Linked DNA regions of Homo sapiens: region 1 is linked to region 2. Evidence: promoter capture Hi-C in human tissues and cell types (Jung and others, 2019). All regions are on one chromosome and are shown on one strand. The core of a region is centred on a gene start or on the middle of the fragment in contact, and the rest is flanking DNA. Distances in the headings are between cores, read along the strand shown. Region 1 overlaps MRTFA (myocardin related transcription factor A). Region 2 holds the start of SGSM3 (small G protein signaling modulator 3).

The links. The method cuts DNA at HindIII sites, captures the fragments that hold promoters and counts their contacts. A contact is called where the count stands out against the background at its distance.
Region 1: a contact is called between a fragment that was not itself captured here and the fragment with the promoter of SGSM3 in region 2, in 1 of the 25 tissues and cell types used here (dorsolateral prefrontal cortex).

What each region holds. Positions count from the first base shown.
Region 1 is chr22:40,530,173-40,534,350 of GRCh38, reverse strand. The region is part of intron 3 of MRTFA (myocardin related transcription factor A); the gene reads left to right. Among named protein-coding and RNA genes, the nearest start is that of MRTFA-AS1, 10 kb to the right of the region's middle. The HindIII fragment of the contact is 3,323 bases long and covers 1,182-4,178 here.
Region 2 is chr22:40,367,752-40,371,986 of GRCh38, reverse strand. SGSM3 (small G protein signaling modulator 3) reads right to left here and starts at 1,393. Exons shown (of 22, transcript NM_015705.6): 1 at 1,299-1,393. ADSL (adenylosuccinate lyase) reads right to left here. Exons shown (of 13, transcript NM_000026.4): 13 at 2,620-4,235. RefSeq lists silencers at 1,008-1,177, 1,238-1,347 and an enhancer at 1,498-1,707. The HindIII fragment of the contact is 4,461 bases long and covers 1-2,900 here.

The DNA of each region.
Region 1 (4,178 bases), core at 1,594-4,093, 160 kb before region 2:
ATTACAGCTCTGGAATGTATTCAGATGACTTTTTGAAACAGATATTTTAATTGGAGTGGGGGTGGAGAAATAGTTGAGCTTCTGTAGTTAAATGTTCAACTTCCTTAGCCTGTTATCTATAAATACCACATATAAAAAAGCCGTTGGAATTCTTTTTCAGAAAATTTATGGAGCTTACATTTTGTATATATGTGTTTATATGTGTTTAATCTTCTTCCCCACCTCTCATCAATGGGTCAGTAATTGGACTGCTTCTTTCATGAGCTTGAGTTGTTTGGATTGTGTTTAATCTGTTCCACTAAACTGCATTAACAGCAGTCTCTTATAGTGGGATTTTGAACAAAACCTCATCTTCTCTTCTTGAGAGGAAAAAAGCAGTTGATCTGTTTTCTGAAAGTCTCTTTATATATGTCTCTCCCCTCCCCCAGAGACGAATAGCAAGGGGAGGAGCTTGCTCACTGTTCTAACCACACTTAGTATGTCTTAACTGGAGAGCTTTTTGGTTTCCTGTCGGCAGTAATTCAAATCTGTGTCATCTTGACTCGCCTGAAGGGTGGATAAATTGGTAACTGCACTGAGAAGGGGATATTCTCACAGTCTGATTTGAGCATAAGGCATCAGATTGAATTTGTGAAAGCTTTCAAGACAGCTTTTCTCCTGTGACTTTGACTTTCTTCATTATATTTGTGGATTTTTGTTTCTGGAAGAATCCGTCATGACTCTACTGGAACCTGAGATGTTAATGATGGCAGTACAGTCAGGTAATTCACATAAATCCTAATTTCCTAACTTGCTAATAATTTCCTACAAATCTTATTTGCCACAGGCTTCTTTAAAAAAAATGGGTCATATTTGTACTAGGAGTGGACAGAAATGGGGAGGAAGAAATGTACTGCATTTTCAGTTTTTTATTAATTTTTCTCTCATTGCAAATTCTAGTTATTCTGACAGCTTTGAATTAGATGGTTACTGGTTTTAAGATTATTCAGTTGCGGAGACCTGTTTGAGAAAAAAAACTCTTTGTCTTCTTTAATCAAGTGTTGTATTGTCTGTGGCACTGTTTTAAATGAAAGACAATTAAATTGCTTTGCTGTTTTATACATTGTTGTCTTTAATCACTAGTCTAGACTCTATGTTTTTATGAAAGCATCTTTAAATTTTTTTTCTTAGCTGTTCTTTCTTGTTTGTGGTATAACCTTTCTGTACCATCTTTTGGTTCTGTGGAAATGCCCTTAATAACACATAGGATTAGGACTAAATTTTGGAGATGGGTAAGTTTGAGCAAAGAGTCAGTCAACACAGGGGAGGATTTTTGAAATTTTATCTCTAAAAACAGTTTTCCAATTCAGAGTTTTTAAAACCCTTTTAAAAATATAGTTAGTTTTCAGTGGTTTCTTTTACTTTTAGTGTTTTTACACTTGGAAGTCAGATATCTAAAAATAGGGAATGTTCTTTTGCTATTTTTAGATCTCTACTAAAATGTAATCTGTAGTGTTTTCTTGTTTCAGAGCATATCTTAAAAGATTCAGACAAGTGGCATTTGGGGACCTCTTCCCCATCCACTGGCTTTCACTCAAAGGAAAATAAGACTTCTTGGTTCTGGCAGATACTGTCTCTGGCAGAATTGGTCTCACTGTTTTCCTTGGGGAGCATTTTAGGTAGTATGTTGAAAGACAGATATACATCAGTTGAAGACAGGATCAGATGCTATCTGGTTAATAAAGCTTATGATCAGGGAAGGGGCAAAGAAGACAGATACCACTACCATTTTGTTCTTTCTGGTTTTACTAATATGACCATAATGAGTCATTTTTTATGCATATAGGCTATGTGTTTCAGGTTGCCTTTCCTTTTCCTCCTACAGATCTATTGAGCTTTGTGTTCTAAACAAGATAGTGTGCTTATCTGAATGTTTCCCATCTGTCTTTGATGAAAAAGCTCCCAGTTAAACTAATTTGGATTTATTTATTTTTCCTGTCTATTCCAGTTCTCTGCTATGTGTGGGCAAGTGCCTGTTTTATCTTGAGGGGTAGATTTTAGCATTTGAACTCTCTCCCTTTTTAAAATCACCTTGTTACTTACAGATCATCTCAGTCCAGTAACTTTTCTTTATAAAGGTTAAAAGATTGTTTGCTTTCTTCTCAGGTAGTCTCAGTGTTCTCAGCCTTGAGAGGGAAAGGGACATACTTAATATTTTCTTGTCTTGCTTGCTAAGAGCTGTTTTTCCTTCGTCATGTGTTGGGCAGGGCTAGCCACCCATCTGTTGGACCAGCTACTTCATAAAACTTTCAAAGGATGATAGTAGGTGAAATGAAATTGACAAGAGTGTTGGATGCAGGTAGAATGAAGGGTCTGCTGTAGCGTGTATGTGGACTTCTTTCTTTTGTTTATGTTCGTAAAAGTGGAGAGACTCTGGATATAGAAAGGGTAATAGCAAACTGATATCTCCAGTACCTGTCTCCTATATGATCAAAAACATTAACAATGTGTTGGTTTTGTAAAATTGCTACTGTTTTGTTCTGAAGTGCTGTAGCCATTAGCTGGATTGTAACAGTAATATGACAGCTGTATAGTAAAATACTGTCTCTCTTTATGATAGGAAATGAAAAAGCATCTGTTATGAAGCCTCAGTGAACTAAAAGCCATTCTCTGAAAAGTCAAGACTTTTGGGCTTTATCAGTAGATAAACATGAGCCATAGGTTTTCTAGCAATAGAATATTTTAACCTATATGAATATATGCTTTATAGGTGAGACTGCTATTTAATGAGAGTTTTAAAGTAACTAAACCTTGTTGACAGAATTCAGGATGGAAAGTTTTACCCTAAATAAAACTTCAGGATATTGAATATGATAGCAAAGTTCCAGGGTATGTTTTATATTTATGAACAATTTTCATTTGAATATTTGGAGCTTGGGGGTTTTGGTGAGACATGTTCATGTATGTTATATACAAACTTTCAGGCCTGGCATGGTGGCTCACACCTGTAATCCCAACACTTCAGGAGGCTGAGGCAGGAGGATCGCTTAAGCCCAAGAGTTCAAGACCCATCTCTACAAAAAATTAAAAAAAAAAAAAAAAAAAAAAAGCCAGGTATGATGGTGCCCACCTGTAGTCAGAGCTACTTGGGAAGCTGAGGTGGGAGGATCGATTGAGCCCAGGAGGTCGAGGCTGCAACAAGCTATGATCATGCCATTCTACTCCAACTGGGGCGACAGAGCAAGATTCTGTCTCAAAAAATAAAACTTTCATCCTCCTCACTGCTGGTGGTCTCTTACTGGTCCTTTGGAACCAGCCAGATGTATATGTCTTCCTAATTAGATTATTAGCTTCTCAAGGGCAATATATTAATCTATATATTGGCTTCTGATACTGGCACATGGTACTTAGTATTTTTGAATGAATGAGAGTGATGAAATTTGGATTGTCATACTTTCCCTGATAAGTATAAGCTTTTAAATCAAGATTTTATCGAAGTATTTTGAGATCTGTTCTTATATTAAGAAATGAATCTTCTACCCACCATCCTGTATTTTAGCCAATCCTTGTCCAAAGCAGATGTTGTTGAAAAATAGCTTTCAAAGTTGGAATTCTTCTGCATCTCAGAATGTGCAGTATGTCATGTCTGCCTGTGATGTTTATTGCTGAATCTAAGTGTTCTAATCAAACCACAGTTAGAGCTTTTCTCACTACTATGGAAACATATCTGAATCATTTTGTTTAGATAATTAATGATCTAAGATGGACATTATGGGGCCGGGCGCGGTGGCGCACGCCTGTAATCCCAGCACTTTAGGAAGCCGAGGCAGGTGGATCATTTGAGGTCAGGAGTTCAAGACAAGCCTGGCCAACATGGTGAAACCCCATCTCTACTAAAAATACAGAAATTAGCCAGGTGTGGTGGTGCATGTCTGTAGTCCCAGCTACTTGGGGGGCTGAGGCAGGAGAATTGCTTGAACCTGGGAGGCAGAGGCTGCAGTGAGCTGAGATTGTGCCACTGCACTCCAGCCTGGGCGACAGAGCGAGACCCTGCCTCAAAACAAAAACAAAAACAACAAAACAAATAAGATGGACATTATGGAATTTCAGAAGCTAAGTCTTAGGGAATATTGGGGCATGGTACTGACTCTGGTGTGTTTTAGAATGGAGAAATGCTAGGACTTGGCTCTTGACAGCTA
Region 2 (4,235 bases), core at 144-2,643:
GGCTCACGCCTGTAATCCCAGCACTTTGGGAGGCCCGAGACGGGCGGATCACCTGTGGTCAGGAGTTCGAGACCAGCCTGGCCAACATGGCGAAAAACCCCGTCTCTATTAAAAATACACAAATTAGCCGGGCGTGGTGGCGGGCGCCTGTAATCCCAGCTACTCGGTAGGCTGAGGCAGGAGAATCACTTGAATCCGGGAGGCGGAGCTTGCAGTGAGCCGAGATCATGTCATTGCACTCCAGCCCGGGCAAGAGCGAAACTCCCGTCTTAAAAAAAAAATAGAAAAGAAAAGAAAAGAAGAATTACAAATTAATCACCAAGAACAGAAATAGTGTAAAAACAAAGATGTAATTCAACTGTTTAGAGTGCAGAGATAATTGGAACTAAAAGAGCAAGAAAAGCGGGAAACATATGTACCTATAAACCTAATCACAAACCTGTCACAAAAACTACGAGTAAACGAGTCGAAGTTGAAAATGAGTTTTTGTGAATCAGAGTCTGATTTGACTTGAATTTACTAAGAAAGAATAAGAAAGGTGTAGAACATTCCAGGACATCTCTATCCCACCGCAAAACAAAAAAGAGCCATCAACCCACCACAAACGTGCAGCGTGAGACTGGAAGATACACTAGTCACCCAGTCACTGAAAACAACCTTTGAAACATCTTTATTTTTCTTTCCAAATAAAAAAGAGCCTAGGTCAGTAAACTAAGTATGAGAATAATTTTCAAAATTCCAGTCCTAACCACACCGGATGATTCTGGCTAACGTATGCCTCAGTTTCCCCCGTGCTAAAATGCAAACACACCGGTGTTCCGAGTCTCGGGCCTGGATCCGAGCCCGGGTTCTGCACCTGGATCTGAATCTTAAAGGGAAAACCGCAAGTTAAACCTGAGGAGGAGTCTGCAGCTGTCCCGGTGCCAGAGCCAGCCAGGCTCTTTTTAGAAAGCCCCCCGCCTCAGGCGCGGTTTTCGTAAAACCGCTCCCGGCTGCCAGCGCGGTGGATTCCGGCTGGCGCCCCGAACACCTGAGGTGGCCTCGGCCGTCTAGGGGCGGCCGCACCGGAGGACGCAGCCGACCTCCCCGCCCCGCCGCGTCCCCGGCCCCCATTCCAACGGCGACGCGAGCAAGGTCGGCCCGGCGGCTCTCCGGCCCGAGGCGGTGCTTCTCTCGTGGGCGCCTTCGGCCCATACGACCCTCGGTCGGACAGTCCGACCACAGCCGCCCCGCAGCCCCCGCCTGAGGGGAACTTGTAGGCGCCGGTGGGTCTCCGCTGACTCCCGCCCCGCACTCACCTGCCCCACGGGCCACCTCAGCGCCAATCCGGGTCGGGTTAGCAGCTTCCCCACTCGCACCCAGTCAGCGCTCAGCGGCGCCTAAGCGCACGCGTGGCGGGGCGTGGCATGGGCGGCCGCGGGTCATGCTGGGGGCTGTAGTCGTTCCCGCCCACTAGGCGGGGCGCGTCCAGGGGCTTTGCGCCCCCATCCCAAGGCCAGCATGCATAGCGATGATTTCTTCGTCTGCACCGCAGCCTGAGAAGCTTGGGACAGTATGGTGTGGACCAGCAGTCAGGGTGGTGGGAGATAGACGCTGCAAATAACTTGCTAATTTTTTTTTTTTTTTTTTTTTGAGATGGAGTCTCGCTCTGTCACCCAGGCTGAAGTGCAGTGGCGTGATCTCGGCTCACTGCAACCTCCACCTCCCAGGTTCAATCAGTTCTCTGCCTCAGCCTCCCGAGTAGCTGGGATTACAGGCGCCCGCCACCACGCCCAGCTAATTTTTTTGTATTTTTAGTACAGTATTTTTAGTAGAGACGGGGTTTCACCATGTTGGCCAGGCTGGTCTCGAACTCCTGACCTCAGATGATCTGCCCGCTTCAGCCTCCCAAAGTGCTGGGATTACAGGCGTGAGCCACCGCGCCAGGCCGGAAAACGAAATTTTCTGAGTACCTTCTGTGTCAGATTCTATGCTGTGCAATTCCCATCTCACCAACCCTCACATCCACCTAGGCTTCATATCACCTTTCTAGGGACTCCTAACCCTCGTGCTTCCACTAAAGCTGTGTTTACAAACATCAGGCTCTCCTGGTTCTTAAATGAAACTGAGCATCAGCCAGGGAAAGAGGGCATTAAGTGTCCAGGTGTCTGACTTCAGCTGAGCAGACATTTCATCAGTTGCCCCAAGTTCTGCCCAGAACCTGACATCTGGGTAGTTCTGATGCTGGAGTCCGTGTGAATTTAAACCAATCTTAAAGAAAATACAACAGCCTGGGTTAACAGAGTGAGACCCTGTCTCTACAAAAAACAACAAAAAATGAACCACGTGTGGTTGTGTGTGCCATAGTCCCAGCTACTCAAGAGGCTGAGGTGAGAGGATCGCTTGAGCCCAGGAAATCAAGGCTGCAGTGAACTGTGGTCATGCCACTGCACTCCAGCTTGGGCGACAGAGCAAGATCTTGTCTATATATATATATAAAAGATAGATATATGAATGTATATTATATATAATATATATGAATGTATATTATATATAATATATATGAATGTATATTTTATATATATACATAAATGTACATTTAATATATATATGTTTTCCAGTGAACACGCAGACCACCCATCAAATTAAAATGTTACATGGGAAAATCAGATTACAAAGTTGCATACAAGTATGTAAATACAAAAATAAAGGAGAATGGAAAAGGAAAGAAGACAAGAGATGCACCAACAAATCCACCCATTCAAATAGTCCAGGAAGAAACCAGGTCAAATCGCCAATCACTGGAGATCATTAGTCTAACAGAATTGTTAGGACAGGAACAAGACTGTTATTTCCTTATTTTCTATGAGGAAATGTATTAACTAAAATCCATGGTATCCTATATCCCCAGTATCTGTTATGTAATATAAATTCTCACATTACAGATAAACTGATAGTAGTTGCTGCCTCCAAGTTGCCCATAGCAGAGAAGGAAGTAGACAGAATATCTGGTCAGAGTCCCATGACTTAATTTCCTTGTGTCAGACTTAGTATCCTTTCAAGATTTTTTCTGTTTTGTTTTTTCAGATGGAGTCTCGCTCCGTTGCCCAGGCTGGAGTACAGTGGCATGATCTTGGCTCACTGCAACTTCTGCCTCCCAGGTTCAAGCAATTCTCCTGTCTCAGCCTCCCAAGTAGCTGGGACTATAGGCGCCTGCCACCACGCCCGGTTGATTGTATTTTTAGTAGAGACGGAGTTTCACCTTGTCGGTCAAGCTGGTCTCGAACTCCTGACCTCAGGTGATCCACCTGCCTCGGCCTCCCAAAGTGTTGGGATTACAGGCGTGAGCCACCACCGCACCCGGCCCTTTTCAAGATTTTTTAGAGATGAACAGAGTAACTCTTTCTGGAAGTTGAGCAAATGGCTCTATGCTATCCCTGCTTGCTTGCTATACTAGCCTATGTTCAGAATTTGGTTTTCAGAATTGTCTTCTATTGTTTTTCCAAAAGGATAAGCTCTTCTCTTAGGTTGGCTTTAAGTGACAAGGGCTCGCTGTCACCCAGCCTGGACTAAACTCTTGGGCTCAAGTGACCCTATCGCCTCAGCTTCCCAAGTAGCTGGGACTGTAAATGCGCATCATCGCAACCTGATTTCCTGGCTACTTTTAAATAAAACTGGAACCGATTCAGCCTCCTCTCCCTCACAACATTCCTAACGAGGCAGTCTTCCAGCTTCTGCCTGACCTGGGGGATTGAGTGTAGGTTGCTAATCTCAGTGGTTCCAATGTCTGGCCCCAAGCCAGTCTCAGTAATGGGTATTGAGCTCAGTGTGTCTCTTGGGGCAACACACAATCAAGTCACTCTTCCTGCACCTGGCAATATTTGAAGTGCCGAGGAGTTTTCTTCTGTATAGGATAAAGAGCCCTAACATTCCTCCACCACAAGATCTTTTTGGAGGTTGGCTCTCCAGTTCATCTCTATTCCTCAGACTGGGTATCCAAAATTGAATGTAATGCCAAGAGTGCGGAGCAGTAAGCCTCTGGTGGCTTTTTGGGCACTGGACAACCATTAACACCTCCTAAAACAGTCTTCTCTCAGTTCTGGTGCATACTGAGTTTAAGATTAACTTATTTACATTGATCTTTATTAACTTTTTCCTCTAGTTTAGGACACATCATTTCAGCCGATTTAGGTTAGAGATGAAAACTTATTTTACCAAATAAACATACTTGTTAATTCTCCCAGTTTTGTGTCATC